Regions from separate parts of the Homo sapiens genome. Here regions 2 and 3 are each linked to region 1. The links are contacts of gene promoters, found by promoter capture Hi-C in blood cells and fetal thymus (Javierre and others, 2016). All regions are on one chromosome and are shown on one strand. The core of a region is centred on a gene start or on the middle of the fragment in contact, and the rest is flanking DNA. Distances in the headings are between cores, read along the strand shown.

Evidence for each region. The method cuts DNA at HindIII sites, captures the fragments that hold promoters and counts their contacts. A CHiCAGO score of 5 or more calls a contact.
Region 2: a contact is called between a fragment that was not itself captured here and the fragment with the promoter of PABPC1 in region 1, in 1 of 17 cell types (neutrophils). The highest score is 10.9, in neutrophils.
Region 3: a contact is called between a fragment that was not itself captured here and the fragment with the promoter of PABPC1 in region 1, in 4 of 17 cell types (fetal thymus, total B cells, monocytes and 1 more). The highest score is 8.6, in fetal thymus.

What each region holds. Positions count from the first base shown.
Region 1 is chr8:100,720,681-100,723,720 of GRCh38, reverse strand. It overlaps PABPC1 (poly(A) binding protein cytoplasmic 1), which reads left to right and starts at 1,633. Exons shown (of 15, transcript NM_002568.4): 1 at 1,633-2,330. The coding sequence starts at 2,138. RefSeq lists enhancers at 506-1,006, 1,007-1,507, 1,562-2,394 and silencers at 797-1,506, 1,587-1,666, 2,347-2,456. The HindIII fragment of the contact is 6,173 bases long and covers 1-3,040 here.
Region 2 is chr8:98,119,979-98,123,018 of GRCh38, reverse strand. All of the region lies in intron 1 of POP1 (POP1 ribonuclease P/MRP subunit), which reads right to left. Among named protein-coding and RNA genes, the nearest start is that of POP1, 4.2 kb to the right of the region's middle. The HindIII fragment of the contact is 5,033 bases long and covers 1-3,040 here.
Region 3 is chr8:102,803,969-102,807,008 of GRCh38, reverse strand. No RefSeq gene overlaps it. Among named protein-coding and RNA genes, the nearest start is that of GASAL1, 1.5 kb to the left of the region's middle. RefSeq lists a silencer at 1-552. The HindIII fragment of the contact is 976 bases long and covers 1,164-2,139 here.

The sequences.
Region 1 (3,040 bases), core at 384-2,883:
AGCCTCCCAAAGTGCTGGAATTACAGGAGTGAGCCACCGCGCCCGGTCACATTTTATCCTCTTTTTAATAGGAGCAAAATAGTATTTATGTGGGATTCCACTGGTTTAAATTCTAATTAAATGAGACAAGATATAAAGTACTTAATTCCACACCTAGCAATACAGTTGACATCCATTAAAGTTTATTGAATTAAGGAATAAATTGGGCAATCATTTAACTTCTTTGAGACTGTTCCTGTAACAGTAAAGTAAAATTATTACTACTTGCTCCACCTCCCACACCAGATTGCTCTCAGGAACAAATGATAGTATGTTTACGCGAGTGCTTTAAAAACTGTAAAAGCACTTTACTACTTTCGAGTGGAATTTGTATGTTGATTTAATGTCATTCCTAGAGCCGGTTTTTATTACTATCAATTCGTTAAATTTAGCATTCCTATTAAAACCCACTACTAATGTGCAGAATTGTTTTAGTTATTTATAAGGACGTTGTTTTAGACTATTCCTAATTTTGTCTGGTTGCAGGGCTGTGGTGCCATATAGTAGTGATTGTGACAAACCCGTACTTTCAGGAAAAACATTCACTTTTCTCCACTCCTGGTTTCTATCGCCAAGAAATGTCTGGCAGAAGCAGCACAAATCAATGATTCCAGCCTAGCACCTTAAGGTAAGAAGTGACCAAAGACCCCCAACACAGCTATCCCAAATTAAAGCCACTTTGACCAACGACAACGTCCAGTGAAGACACGGAGGAGGGTCGGGCTGGAAAAGAAGAGGACGAGGAACCCGAGGGGCCCTCCCCTCTCTCTCCCTGCCCCCCAACCCCGCGCCGGGAGCTCCAGCGGTGCCGGGGTCCAGCGCGCAGGACGGTTGGGGGGTCCCGGAGCGGGCGGCCAGGACCCGCGCAGCCAGTTGGTGTCAGCGAGCGCCGCGGCCGTTGGGGACTCCAGCTCCCAGCAGGCACCGCTTCTGCGGCCGACGCGCGTGGCGGCGGTGCCGGCTGGGACTCGTAGTGCGGTCCGGGTAGGAGAGAGCAGGGGGCCACGCTGGCTCCATCTACGCACGTTTCGGAAACCGGGCCCGGAGGGGACCACGCCCGCTCACCCGTGCCCGGCGTCCCCCGGAGCTGGGGCTAGAGGAGCCGGGCCGGCCGCAGCGGGAAGAGGCCACAGGCGGCCGCGCACGTGGGGGGTGGTTAGCGCGGAGGAACCCGGAAGCCCTTTGCACCGCCCACCGCCGCGGTGACGGGTTAACGCTCCTCCTGGTGGAGGCAGGGGCGGGCGGGGCGGAAGGCGGGGACGCCTCAGCCAACACCCCCGAGGACCGCCCGCGAGCCGTCCTCCCCACCCCCACGGACGCGACGCAGCGCGGGCTCCGCTTCCCCGGCCGCGGCGCCTGCGCAAAAGCCCCGCCCCTTCGCCCGAGCCCCACCCCCACACCGCAGCCTCCACCGCCGCCACCTCTCCCTTCCTCTCTGCTCTTTCCTCCTGTTTTCTCTTCCCTCCTCCCCCTGGCCTCCGCGTCTCCTCCTACTCCGGCGCTGACGCTCGCGTAGGGGCCCTGGCGTCAGACGCGCGGGGGCGGGGCGAGTGCGGCGCGGGGTATAAGTAGAGGGTGCAGGAGGCGGTGCTTCCCCTTCTCCCCGGCGGTTAGTGCTGAGAGTGCGGAGTGTGTGCTCCGGGCTCGGAACACACATTTATTATTAAAAAATCCAAAAAAAATCTAAAAAAATCTTTTAAAAAACCCCAAAAAAATTTACAAAAAATCCGCGTCTCCCCCGCCGGAGACTTTTATTTTTTTTCTTCCTCTTTTATAAAATAACCCGGTGAAGCAGCCGAGACCGACCCGCCCGCCCGCGGCCCCGCAGCAGCTCCAAGAAGGAACCAAGAGACCGAGGCCTTCCCGCTGCCCGGACCCGACACCGCCACCCTCGCTCCCCGCCGGCAGCCGGCAGCCAGCGGCAGTGGATCGACCCCGTTCTGCGGCCGTTGAGTAGTTTTCAATTCCGGTTGATTTTTGTCCCTCTGCGCTTGCTCCCCGCTCCCCTCCCCCCGGCTCCGGCCCCCAGCCCCGGCACTCGCTCTCCTCCTCTCACGGAAAGGTCGCGGCCTGTGGCCCTGCGGGCAGCCGTGCCGAGATGAACCCCAGTGCCCCCAGCTACCCCATGGCCTCGCTCTACGTGGGGGACCTCCACCCCGACGTGACCGAGGCGATGCTCTACGAGAAGTTCAGCCCGGCCGGGCCCATCCTCTCCATCCGGGTCTGCAGGGACATGATCACCCGCCGCTCCTTGGGCTACGCGTATGTGAACTTCCAGCAGCCGGCGGACGGTGAGCGCCGGGCTCCGCGGTCGGCCGGGCGGGCGGGCGGCCATGAGGCTCGGGCGGCGGCGGCGGGCGGGGTAGGCCGGCGGGCCCGGGGAGGGGGGCGGGAGGGCATGTCACCCCGCGACGGCCGGCGGGAAGGCGCCGGGGTCCCTGGAGCCGCGTTTCCCGAGCCGGCGGGGACCCGCGCTGCCGGCAGCCACACGCCCGGCTACTTCCTCCTTTGCGACCATTTTCTCGGCCTCAGACGCTCTCAAACTTTAGGGTGATGACGCGCCGGGAGGGTGGGTGAGATTCGGTTCCTCCGCGGCGCTCCCGCCAGTGGCCCCGGGATTCTGGGGCGTTGAACGCTGAGCTCCTTCCGTGGGTAAGAGGTGGAGGCGCTCCCACCACCCGGAGCTCCTGCCGGCGCCCCAGCCTGGGGAGGAAGTGCAGTTCTGTGCTCGAAAAATACCACGTGTTGAACCCTGTAACCTCGCAGGCCCGAGGCCTGCTTCTGCTCCTGCTCCTGGCCCAGTCGCCTGGGGGAGCCACCAGGCCTTAGGATAAAGTTCCTGTGGCGATGTGTGGTGTGGTGGTGGTCCTCAGGCTTGTGAGTCCACTTCCCAGAACTCATCAGTGACTGATGGATCTAGGAATGGAATTTACCGGAGACATGCATTTGGGGTTTCCCCTAGATCAAGCATTTCTCTAACATTAAAAGGGCAGAGTGGGAG
Region 2 (3,040 bases), core at 336-2,835, 2.6 Mb after region 1:
AAAAGGAGAAACTCTATTAAAAACAACACAAATTACTGACGCTTTCATTTCTACTACTCAGATGATGCCAGCTATATATTTAATTTATAATAGCAATAGATAATGATTTCAATTTGAAGCAAGATAAAGGACAAAAACAGTGGGACCCCGACTGATTTACCAGTCAGTAGTTCCCAACTCTCAAACTCAACATCCCCTATTTTTACTGATTCAGTTTGAAGCAGCTGTTCTCTATTTTTAAATGAAATGAATGTTATAACCTATTAGACACATATCGAGACATACCCTACAATAGATGCCCTAAATGTAACATAAAGGAGACCTAAGAAGTAATTTTAATAAAATAATATGTATTTCTGTATGTAACTATTTCACCACAACTACACTAGATGATATTATGAATAGATTTTGAACCCAGGGAATAATAACATCCACACAGGCACCAGCACAGGCATTGGCACAATCCATAAAGCTGGATGGTCCTGGAAGCCCTTCAACCCCAAGGTACCAGTGATTAACTCTTTCATTGCTAACTGCAGGAAATCCGAAGGGCCCTATACATGGACACACTAGGAGGTAGGGAAGCTCAGAGCAGCTGGTATTTACCAAGCTGTTCTCAAAGCAGTTCAGTATTTTAATACCAGTCTTTACTTCTACCTATACATAAAATTACCATGAATTCAACAGCTACAAAGGCAAAGCAGCACAGGTGTGTTGTACCAGTGCCTCAAAGAGAAGGTAGCAATGCCACTAATGACGTAATTTTCCAAATTGGTCAACACTCCTTAGTAAACTACCCCCACCCCCGCCACCCTGCCAAAAAAAGTACAAACTTGCTTTGATTTACTGCATTACTGGAAAATTCAGTGCATATTAAAACGGTGTAACCAGGCCAGGTGCGGTGGCTCATGCCTATAATCACAGCAGTTAGGGAGGCTGAGGCAGGCGAATCACTTGAGGTCAGGAGTCCGAGACCAACCTGGCCACCATGGCGAAACCCCATCTCTACTAGAAATACAAAAATTAGTTGGGTGGGCCGGGCGTGGTGGCTCACGCCTGTAATTCCAGCGCTTTGGGAGGCTGAGGCGGGCGGATCATGAGGTCAGGAGATCGAGACCATCTTGGCTAACACAGTGAAACCCCGTCTCTACTAAAAAAATACAAAAAAATTAGCCAGGCATGGTGGCGGGCGCCTGTAGTCGCAGCTACTCAGGAGGCTGAGGCAGGAGAATGGTGTGAACCCAGAAGGTGGAGCTTACAGTGAGCCCAGATCGTGCCACTGCACTCCAGCCTGGGCAACAGAGCAAGACTCCATCTCAAAAAAAAAAAAAAAATTAGTTGGGTGCAGTGGCGCGCACCTGTAGTCCCAGCTATTCGGGAGGCTGCGACAGGAGAATCGCTTGAACCCAGGAGGTGGAGGTTGCATTGAGCCGAGATGATCACACCACTGCACTCCAAGTTGGGCAATAGAGCAAGTCTCCATCTCAAAAAAAAAAAAAAAAAAAACCCGTGTAACCAATAATTTTATATAAATTAGGTACTGGGCTACTGTGGGGCTTTTCTGCACATAGCAGGCTGTCTAATATCCCTGGTCCCTGCCCAATAAATGCCAGCAATGTTAGCCCAATTATGCCAACCAAAACACCTACACAAACTTCCAAAATGCCAGCCACATCAGAATTTGCCCACTTCCACTGAGAGCCACTAAATTACCCCCCATTCACTTACTTCCTTTTCCAATGCAAGACCTCACACAAAATTAAGACTTGCCTATATGGTATAGTGTTTAAGGGCTTTCACTATGGAGTTTGAAAGATGTGGGTTCAAATTCCTTCTTTACACTTTTTAGTTACATAATCTTAGGAAAATTACTTTCTCACTTTCAGCCTCAGCCTCTTCCTCTACAAGTTGCTGTGAGAATTAAACATTATATACAGGCCAGGTGGGATGGCTTATGCCTGTAATCCCAGCACTATGGGAGGCCAAGGCGAGTGGATCACTTGAGGCCAGGAGTTCAAGACCAGCCTGGCAAACATGGTGAAATCCCATCTCTACTAAAAAATACAAAAATGAGGCCGGGAGCGGTGGTTCACGCCTGTAATCCCAGCACTTTGGAAGGCCGAGGCAGAAGGATCACAAGGTCAGGAGATCAAGACCATCCTGGCTAACACAGTGAAACCCCGTCTCTACTAAAAATACAAAAAATTAGCCGGGCGTGTTGGCGGGCGCCTGTAGTCCCAGCTACTCGGGAGGCTGAGGCAGGAGAATGGCGTGAACCCGGTAGGCGGAGCTTCCAGTGAGCCGAGATCGCGCCACTGCACTCCAGCCTGGGCGACGGAGCAAGACTCCGTCTCAAGAAAAAAAAAAAAAAATACAAAAATGAGCCACGTGTGATGGCATGCGCTTGTAATCCCAGCTGCTCGGGAGGCTGAGGCACGAGAATCCTTTGAACCCAGGAGGCGGAGATTGTGGTGAGCCGAGATCACGCCACTGCACTCCAGCCTGGGCGATAGAGTGAGACTCTGTCTCAAAATAAAAAAATGAACAAACATATACATACTGTACATGGTTTTGGCTTTGCAAAATGCATATACACAACTCACTTAGCATGGGGCTTTATGCTAACTAAATGCTCAGTTTATGGTAGCTATTATTCTTAAATAATAAATGAAATAGCAGGGATTGATGCCATTTCACTGTCTCACTCCACTAATTTCAACTAAATGAAAGACAGCTATATCTACATGCAAAAACATTTTTCAAATTAAACAGTATGAAGGAAGTAAATGGAGTTCTGCAGAACTGGCTGGCTAGTGAAGCACATGATTCAGATCGGTCTGCATTAAAAGCCATTCCAAATATTTTACAAAACAACTTAGTTAACCTACTGTTACCTGCTTGAATCAGAACTCACCAGCAAGGCTAGACAAGAACACCATAGAAACTCTAGCTCCCCTCAGTATTAGAATGGTCCAAGAAAAGGTTGGTGCTGGAGGATTAGGATAACCTTGGGAACATCCCTGAGCTTTGGGTCCAGACT
Region 3 (3,040 bases), core at 402-2,901, 2.1 Mb before region 1:
CAGCCGTCTCCGTGGGGTTTTCCGGCTCTGCGCGCCTCAAACGACCTCGGCTGCCGCCTGCCCGGCAGCTCCCCGCGGTCCCCCACGTTCCCCCGCCCCCCGGGCCGCGCGGCAGGCCTTTCTGATGAGTCAGCGGGAGCCCGGGAGCCTCCAACCGCCCCGGGCATCTGCTCCGGTGACGCACCCTGAGTCACGGGCGCCCGGGCCGCCGCCGAGGCCGAGCGCGCAGCCGGGAGCGCCGAGCGCAGCCCCTACGCCTGCCGCGGGCGCCCACCCAGCCCGGCCCGGCCCCGCACCCTTCCTCCCTCGCTCCCAGCGCCGCCCGCCCTGCACTCCCTGGCCCAGCTCCAGGCTGACATCAGACGCTGGCCGCCCGGCCACCCTCTGAGTCAACAGTTTCCGAAGCAGAGCCCGCTGCCAGGGGCGGGGAGAGAGCGCGGCCTCCGGGGGAGGCGGGGGCGGGCACCGGTCTGGCAGCCGCGGGAGGGCGGAGGTGGGTGGGGACGCCGGAGCCTTTTACAAGAAGTCACGGGGGATGGGGGAGAAGAGAGGGCGAAAACCACCCTCTGCAGAGCTGCCGGGGCGGAGAGGAAACCCGCCGCCCCACACAGCCACGTGCTGAAGCCCTCACTGAGTGGGTGGCTGGGAAGGGAACCCGAGGGCGGGAGGAGGGGGAGGCACTTGCTGGGAAAGGCCCTGGGCCAAGTTTCTGAGGGAGGAAAAGAACCACCTTTGGACACCCTGGGTCCCAGGGGCCCAGCAGATATTTGTGTCTGGATAACAGGGCCCCACCCAGTTCCCTTTGATGGGAGCAGCTCTGGCCGAGCCCTACTCTTGGGGACTGGTGCTGCCTGCTTGGGGTCCGACTTGAAGAACTGCACTGACCTAACCTGACCCCCTCCCTTGACCACAGACCCTGTCACCATCGTGGGATGATGGGGTTGGAAGGATGTATGTCTGAGGGTAAAGGAATTCAAGAGCCCCAGTCCATTGAGAGTCACCTTCCTCGCTGTAACAAGGCTGGGCACTATGGTCTGCCCCTGAGTTGGTGCTGGGTAACCACTCTGAGAGGCTGCATCTGTGGTTCTAGAATGCTCAAAGTGAGCAAGAGACCCTTAAAAAAAGCATCTACCTGCAGGGGGACTAAGTGGCTTCTAGAAGCTTCTTTAACCCCGCAGATTTCCCTGATCACGTCAGGCAGGAAGGAAGGGTGACGTGGAGCCAGGAGGACAGAGTAAGGCAGTAAGCATCCACAGGTGCTTGGATTTCCTTCCCTCCACCCCATCGCACCCCGCCCACCCATGCCATGCCCCCCAGGATAGCAAGACAGGGCTGTCATTGGTGGGCCTCCGGCTGGAATTCACGCTCAGCTTCTTTCCGGGATTTGAACTTGTTGTTCTTTCCAAAGCCATGGTTCAATAAATGATGCCAACCTGGGAAGGGGAGGTGTCTTTCTCATCTTGCAGGCAGAAGCGGCATAACAGCTGGGTGAACAGAACCGGTCTGGATCTGTCCAGAGCTATTTGTCAGCACAGCTTTGCAGAAACTATGTGAGCGTCTCCTTGCTCCATATGACCCCCATTCAAACTCATGCTGAGAAAGAGCTCCCAGTCCACCTCTGCTGGGGCAGTCTTTTCCCAAGTGTGACTTTTCCAAGGGTGGGTGGTTCATTTCTGCCAATCTAACCCAGCTCAAAATAGCATTGAATCAGACTTCTGGGAAGCCCTGTGCTCCAGGCGCCTGTAGAAAAGAGTTAAAAATGACATCTCTTGGGAAACCAGGGGGTCTAATTTTGCTGAGGTGGGACAAGATGCAGAGCCCTGTGACATCAGAGGGAAGAAATAGTGGCCAGGGATAGGTCTGGAAAGTGTGAGTGGTGGAAGGTCCTGTGCTTTATGTGGTTGCCCTTTGGGAAGTCCGTGGCCTGGCCCAGTGGGGGGCAGGTATCCTGGGAGCTAAGGCCAGGTGTAGGAGGGGGCTGTGGCTTAAGCCACAAACTCCACAACCTCCAACTTCCACATTTTCCTTCAGGCTGAGAACCCGAACTGTCTCAGTAGGGGTTGACTCCTCCACCGTTTCTAATTCTGATTACTTACGCTTTTGGCTTGGGCCCAGCTGGATTGCCACCTTTATGAAGCTTTTCTCATGAGTTAACTTGACCCTTGGCACTTCCACTACAGCCTTTACCATGCTTTGCCTGCTTTGAGAGGCTTTGCTTTATTCGGCTTTCCTCTCCACCCAGCAGCCCACTGGGAGGCAAGCACTCCATCCTTGCCACTCGTTAGTGGAACTCCCAGGGAAACAAATGAGCTGTCGGCTCTTCTGTCTTCTGCCCCCACGTTTGGTCTCATAGGCTTCCTTTGTGTCTGATGGGGCTTCCTGTGTGCTGTCTCTGCTTCCAAGACAGCCTCATCTTGGGTTTTGACCCTATCTGCGTTTTTTTTTTTTTTTAAGGAAAACAATTTTTCTTAGTTCAAATAGAAATTAGCTTAGATTTTAGATTTGATCATTTTCTAGATTTTTTTAAATTTATGGGTACATAGTAGGTGTGTATGTTTATGGGGTACATGAGCTATTTTGGTATAAACATACAATACATAATAATCATATCAGGGTAAGTGGAGTATTCATCACCTCAAGCATTTAATCTGTTCTGTGTTACAAATATTCCAATCATACTCTTTTAGTAGTTTTTGTTTGTTTGCTTGTTTTGTTTTGTTTGAGACAGAGTCTTACTCTGTCACCTAGGCTGGAGTGCAGTGGCATGATCTTGTCTCACTGCAGCCTCTGCCTTCTGGGTTCAGGTGATTCTCCTGCCTCAGCCTCTGGACTAGCTGGGGCTACAGGTGCGCACCATCACGCCCAGCTATTTTTTTTGTATTTTTAGTAGACACAGGTTTCACAATGTGGGTGTTCTCTTGACCTCGTGATCTGCCCGCCTTGGCCTCTCATTTTTTGTATTTTTAGTAGAGACGGGGTTTCCACATGTTGGCCAGGCTGATCTCAAACTCCTAGCCTCAAGTGATCTGCCTGCCTGCCT